2 separate regions of the Homo sapiens genome follow, and region 2 is linked to region 1. The links are contacts of gene promoters, found by promoter capture Hi-C in human tissues and cell types (Jung and others, 2019). All regions are on one chromosome and are shown on one strand. Each heading gives the region's core, a stretch centred on a gene start or on the middle of the fragment in contact. The rest is flanking DNA. Distances are from core to core; before and after follow the strand shown. Region 1 holds the start of LYZL2 (lysozyme like 2). Region 2 has its middle 90 kb from the start of MAP3K8.

Region 1 (3,608 bases), core at 385-2,884:
ACAAGCATTTTTGAAAAAAAAGACAATCTGTCTCTATTTTCTCATTGACTATAAAATTCCTATTTCAAAGCACTTTGAAAAAGATGTTTGAAGAAAAACCTATGTATTTTCTCGTATTATAGACAATTCACAAGAAAAAGCACACAGGCCAGATGCCGTGGATCATGCCTATAATTTCAGCACTTTGGGAGGTTGAGGCGAGCAGATTGCTTGAGATCAGGAGTTTGAGACCAGTCTGGCAGACATGGTGAAACACCATCTCTACTAAAAATACAAAAATTATCTGGGCGTGGGGGCACATGCCTGTAATACCAGCTACTCGGGAGGCTGAGGCACGAGAATCGCTTCAACCTGCGAGGTGGAGGTTGCAATGAGCCGAGATCACACTACTGAGCTCCAGCCTGGACAACAGAGGGAGACTCTGTCTCAATTAAAAAAAAAAAAAAAGAGAGAGAGAGAGAGAAAAAAGTCCACAAATGGCTTCTGAAGATAAGAAAAGATGCTCAGACAGCTTGAAATAAGGGAAGCTGAAATTGAAACTTTGCTGACAAATTATGTTTCATCTCTAATATTAGCAAATATCTTAACCTTTGGTAATAGGGTATGCTAGCCATCTTCGTCATACAAGCCCACGTGGAAGGCAATTTGGCAATATCTAGCAAAATTACAAAATTACAGTCCTTAACCCAGCAATTCAATTTCCAGGAATGTATCCTACAGATATTCTTGCAAATGTACAAATGACAAATGTACAAGATTACTAATTGTAATATGTTTATCATAGAAGAAAAAAATACCTTAAGTGTGAGTCAATATGGAATTGGCTAAATATGTTATATCTACACAATGTAATACTATATAAACTTAAAACTAGATTTCAACAAGATCTTTGCATTATTTGCAGATGGAATTTAATAAAATACAATAATTAGTTAGGTACAACTAACAACAAACTTATACTGAGATCTACATATTCCAATGAGAATTCATTTCAAATGTGTCATTAAATCTGAACACAGAAATAAATGGACCTTCAAACTAGCTCTTTATTGAGTCACAAAGTGTTAAGCCAAATTTTTAAAAAACAATGAAATCATGTTAATTATACATAAAAATTTTTTATTTCTTTTGTGGCCCTCCTTTGACAATATTTTATTAATTAACAATATAACTATAGCAAAGAAATGTGCTGTTAATTAATTTTTAATGTTAATTTCACCTCTCATTCATTTTCAGATTTTAGTTTTGTGTATGTTGATAATTTATGTAGCATATTAGTACAGAGGTACAGAAGTGTGATTTATAATTTAATATACATCTAAAGAGGATACATGCTTAACTTTATTAATGGAATTTGTGATAAAGTTTGCAGACTGTTGCCTTAGAGAAGAGCTCTCACTTGGACGGGAGGCCCTGGCCAAGTTGTGTAGTGAGGACAGTTGTTGAGAGGAAAAGAGAAAAAACGAGAGGTATTAAGGCCCAGAAGAGAGTTAGCACCTGCTTCAGAACACAAGCGTGCAGGATGATATAGCTTTTAGTGCCAAGAAGTAGAATTCTAGCATCTCTAGGTGGTGAGAAACAAAGGACTAAGAATTTTTCTTTCTCTAACACTCTAAAGAAAGGTTCTTGAGCTAGGAAAGGATTACTCGAGCCTTGTTAGAATCAGACATGGCTTCAGGGGATGCAGGACGCTCCCCTGAGCTGCCTGTCACCGACTAAGTGGAGCAGTGTTTCTTCCGCAGACTCAACTGAGAAGTCAGCCTCTGCGGCAGGCACCAGGAATCTGCCTTTTCAGTAAGACCTAAATTACTCTTATGAAGCCACCTGTCCCTGAGAACCAGCAATGGCAGGTTCTTGAAGGATGTAGAACATGATGCTTGGGGTTATCATTGCTACGGGTTTTGTTTTGACTTGTTTGAGATCAGTTAACATTCTAAGGCAGAGGATGGAAACCAACCTTATTTGTAAGCTCTGCATCTTTTTTTTTTTTTTTGAAACAGGATGTCACTCTGTTGCCCAGGCTGGAGTGCAGTGGCACAATCACAACTCACAACAGCCTCAACCTCCCAGCCTTAAAAGATCCTCCCACCTCAGCCTCCCAAACAGGTGGGACCACAGTCACACACCACTATGCCTGGCTAATTTTTGTGTATTTTGTAGTGACAGAGGTCTACCTTTGTTGCCCAGGCTGGTCTCAAACTCCTGGCTTCAAGCAATTTGCCCTTTTCACCCTCACAAAGTGCTGAGATTACAGGTGTGGGCCACCATGCCCAGCCTAAGCTCTGCATCTTAAACCTCGTTTGTCTGTCCCTCACAGCTTAGCACAATGCTGTACACCACGGACTGGCATGATCTCTCTGAAAAGGGCCAGATAATAATATGTTAGGCTTTGTGGTCTATACAGCCTCTAACACAGCTACTCAACTCTGCCACTGCAGCAGGAAATCAGCCACCAACAATATATTACCAAATGATGAGAGTAGCTATGTTTCAATAAAACTTTACATACAAAAGCGGGCCTGGTTTGCCCACGCTTGCTATTCACGTTTGTAATGTACATGCCCCTCATGCAATGCAGTTCCTTATCTTATTGCTTAGTCACCTTAAAGCCCTGCTTGTTACTCGGTGCGGTGGCCTTGCTGATGACTACTTATCCCTGTTTTGGGCCTAGCCTTTCAATGCAGGAATCCAGCCCCAGGGAGAGAAACTAATGACTAGAGAAGTTTCCAGGCAAGTGCAGAAAATGACACGGGATGAACATATGTAAGAACATCAAGTTCAGGATCCCGAGTAGTTGTCAGAAATTTCACTTCACCCCATCCCAGCAAGGCTGTTGTGTTTGGGGAAGACATTATTTTAAGAGGGGAGGAGATTGTGGAAAATCAGTAGGCAGCAGGAGACAGCGCTCTTGATCCTACTCCCATTTCAGACGATTCTATGGGGGCCTCTTTATTGTCCCTCTGCTCCCCCAGGTGCTTTCCTCCTTTCATGAGGCTTTGTCCTCCATCCCTCTTGCTCCCCAGTCAGGTGCCAGACTTTTAGGAGGCCGCCCGGAGCACTGGTTGTGAAGCTTAGCAAAGCAATGCATTTGCAATCTAAGATAAAACACTAGTACTTTGGAAGCAATGCTCCCACATTTTGAAATGCATCAAGAAAAGAAAAGGAAAGATTAGGTGCTTAATCTTCACCCTTCAATAAACCCCCAAACGATGAATCTTTTTTTTTTTGAGGCGGAGTCTCGCTCTGTCGCCCAGGCTGGAGTGCAGTGGCGCAATCTCCGCTCACTGCAAGCTCAGCCTCCTGGGTTCACGCCATTCTCCTGCCTCAGCCTCCCGAGCAGCTGGGACTACAGACACATGCCACCACACCCGGCTAATTTTTTTGTATTTTTAGTAGAGACGGGGTTTCACCGCATTAGCCAGGATGGTCTTGATCTCCTGACCTCGTGATCCGCCCGTCTCGGCCTCCCAAAGTGCCGGGATTACAGGCGTGAGCCACCGCGCCTGGCCTAGACGATGAATCTTAAAGTTTTCCATTCAGGTCCACGTGTATTTCATCTCTGGCTGAAATGGGGTGTCTGTTTCTACACACCCAGTTGATCCTTGAAC
Region 2 (3,608 bases), core at 346-2,845, 110 kb after region 1:
CAGCAGCAAAAGTGAAAGTCAGGAAACTGTAGATTATTATCTTCAATATTAGTGCCGTGAGAAAGTGAGTATTGACAGGAAACTGCCTGCCCAAACAAGGCAATTCTTAAAAGAAAAAAGTAAAATTGTGACATCTTGAAGATGTTTTTGAAAGATTGTTTTTGAAAAAGCAATACTGAGAATAATTACCATTAACAGACTCTCAAAAACTCTAAAATATACAATTCCCAATAAAAGGAAATGATCACAGAGAAGTCTGAGATACAAGAAAGATTGGTGAATAAATAAAATGTGGGAACATTTTTTCTTTTGAGATGGAGTTTTGCTCTTCTTGCCCAGGTTGGAGTGCAATGGCGCAGTCTCGGCTCACTGCAACCTCCGCCTCCAGGGTACAAGTGATTCTCCTGTCTCAGCCTCCTGAGTAGCTGGGATTACAGGCGCCTGCCAACGCGCCCGGCTAATTTTTTTTTTTTTTTTTTTTTAGTAGAGATGGGGTTTCACCATGTTGGCCAGGCTGGTCTCGAACTCCTGACCTCGGGTGATCCACCCACCTTGGCCTCCCAAAGTGTTGGGATTACAGGTGTGAGCCACCGTGCCCTGCTATTTTTTTTTTTTTAAACTGAGTCTTAATCTGTTACCCAGGCTGGAGTGCAGTGATGTGATCTCGGTTCACTGCAATCTCCATCTCCCAGGTTCAAGTGATTCTCCTGCCTCAGCCTCCTGAGTAGCTGGGATTACAGGTGCCCTCCACCATGCCCAGCTTATTTTTGTATTTTTAGTAAAGACGGGGTTTCACCATGTTGGCCAGGCTGGTCTTGAACTCCTGAACTCAGGTGATCCACCCACCTCGGCCTCCCAAAGTGCTGGGATTACAGGCATGAGCCACCATGCCTGGCCTAAATGTGGGAAAATATAAATTCACTGATTATGTTAACCAATATAATGGTTAACATATATTGTGTTGAACATTATATGTGTGAAGTTGAACATTACTGGACAACAATGGTATGTTAACTGTGAGTGGAGAGATTGATGTTAAAGCATTCTGAGGTTCTTTGATTTGGGAGCAGAATAAAGTTTATTAGTTAACTTTGGATTAGGTAAAATATTCATGTGAAATATTAATAATCAATTGCAACCAATAAGGTAAGGAAAAAATGGCGGGGGGAAGGGAGTATCTCAATCAATGTGGTTAAATCTCAAAAACATAATTTTGTGCCAAACCAAGTTTACATAGTACAATAAAGCTTAAAAATAAGCAATATTCAGTAATGTATTTATTACTTAGAGATAAGTAAAAATTGGCAAAATTATAAAGAAAGGCAAAGAAGTAATTAATGAAAGGCAAAGAGGTAATTAACAAAATCAGGATCATAATTAGCTCTGGGAAAAGAATGGGAAAAGGTATTTGGTAATGTTTATTACTTAAGTTGGGTTAAAATATTTATATTCTTTTATTAGCATTTGTATTAATATTAGTGTTAGTATTATTTGAAATGTACATAGGCATTATAGAAACTGCTTCTTTATGGGGTTTTTATTTTTTATTTATTTATTTATTTATTTATTTATTTTTTTTTTTTTGAGACGGAGTCTCGCTCTGTCGCCCAGGCTGGAGTGCAGTGGTGCCATCTTGGCTCACTGCAACCTCCGCCTTCCAGGTTCAAGCAATTCTCCTGCCTCAGACTCCTGAGCAGCTGGGACTACAAGCATGTACCACCATGCCCAGCTAATTTTTGTATTTTTACTAGAGATGGGGTTTCACCAGTTTGGCCAGGATGGTCTCAATCTCTTGACCTCATGATCTACCCACCTCGGCCTCCCAAAGTTCTGGGATTACAGGTGTGAGCCACTGTGCCCAGCTTAGAAACTCTTTTAAAATTTGAAGTATGTTTGTACTTACATTTCTTTGCTATTGCAGGCCGGGCGCAGTGGCTCACACCTATAATCCCAGCATTTTGGGAGGCCGAGGCAGGTGGATCACCTGAGGTCAGGAGTTTGAGACCCGCCTGGCCAACATGGTGAAACCCAGTCTCTACTAAAAGTACAAAAATTAGCCAGGTGTGGTGGCACTCAGCTCACTGTGGTCAGCAGTGAGCTGAGATTGTACTACCGCAATCCAGCCTGGGCGACAGAGCAAGACTCTGTCTCAAAGAAAAAAAAGAAAAATTTGTTTGCTATTGCTGAGAAATACACTACAGACACCAAAACTCAGCGATTATAGACAAGAATCATTTACAACCACTCATATTTACACAGATGGTTTGGGGCTCTGCTAATCTAGGCTGGGTTGGACTAGGGGGCAGAGAAGGATACACTGCTTCTTGGGAGGAACTATAAAGTCACATGTGGCCGGGCACGGTGGCTCATGCCTGTACTCCCACCACTTTGGGAGGCTGAGGTGGGTGTATCATCTGAGATCAGGAGTTCAAGACCAGCCTGAACGACATGGTGAAACCCCGTGTCTACTAAAAATACAAAAATTATCTGGGGGTGGTGGTGCGCGCCTGTAATTCCAGCTACTCAGGAGGCTGAGGCAGGAGAATCACTTGAACCTGGGAGGCGGAGGTTGTGGTGAGCTGAGATCATGCCACTGAACCCCAGCCTGGGCGACAGAGTGAGACTTTGTCTCAAAAAAAAAAAAAATTCACCCTCGATATTTCACATAGGTTCTTTTCTATTTTCCCTAAGTGTCGGCCAGTCTGAGAAATAAAGGGAAAGAGTACAAAAGAGAGAAATTTTAAAGCTGGGTGTCCAGGGGAGACATCACATGTTGGCAGGTTCTGTGATGCCCCACAAGCTGCAAAACCAGCAAGTTTTTATTAGTGATTTTCAAAAGGGGAGGGAGTGTACGAATAGGATGTGGGTCACAGAGATCACATGCTTTCAGAGCAACAAAAGATCACAAGGCAGGAGGTCAGGGCGAGATCACAAGGTCAGGGTGAAACTAGAATCACTAATGAACTTCCATGCCCCACTGTGTACGCATTGTCATTGATAAACATCTTAACAGGGTTCAAGAGCAGAGAACCGGTCTGACTAGAATTTGTCAGGCTGGAATTTCCTAATCCTAGCCAGCCTGGGGGCGCTGCAGGAGACTAGGGCGTGTTTCATCCCTACCTACGTCTGCATAAGGCAGACACTCTCAGGGCAGCCATTTGAGAGGCCCCCCCGGGAATGCATTCTTTTCCCAGGGCTGTTAATTATTAATATTCCTTACTGGGGAAAGAATTCAGTGATACTTCTCTTACCCGTTTTTGGTAATAAGAGAAATATGGCTCTGTCCTGCCTGGCCCACAGGCAGCCAGACTTTAAGGTTATCTCCCTTGTTCCCTGAAAATCGCTGTTATCCTGTTCTTAAGGTGCCCAGATTTCATATTGTTCAAACACACATGCTCTACAAACAATTTCTGTAGTTAACGCAATCATCACAGGGTCCTGAAGCGACATTCATCCTCAGCTTATGAAGATGACGGGATTAAGAGATTAAAGTAAAGACAGGCATAGGAAATCACAAGTATTGATTGGGGAAGTGATAAATGTCCATGAAATCTTCACAATTTATGTTCAGAGATTGAAGTAAAGACAGGCATAAGAAATTATAAAAG

What was found. The method cuts DNA at HindIII sites, captures the fragments that hold promoters and counts their contacts. A contact is called where the count stands out against the background at its distance.
Region 2: a fragment that was not itself captured here is called in contact with the fragment with the promoter of LYZL2 in region 1 in 3 of the 25 tissues and cell types used here (liver, mesenchymal stem cells and mesendoderm cells).

Annotation. Positions count from the first base shown.
Region 1 is chr10:30,627,779-30,631,386 of GRCh38, reverse strand. It overlaps LYZL2 (lysozyme like 2), which reads left to right and starts at 1,634. Exons shown (of 5, transcript NM_183058.3): 1 at 1,634-1,794. The HindIII fragment of the contact is 10,435 bases long and covers 1-3,374 here.
Region 2 is chr10:30,522,244-30,525,851 of GRCh38, reverse strand. No RefSeq gene overlaps it. Among named protein-coding and RNA genes, the nearest start is that of MAP3K8, 90 kb to the right of the region's middle. The HindIII fragment of the contact is 4,168 bases long and covers 1-3,608 here.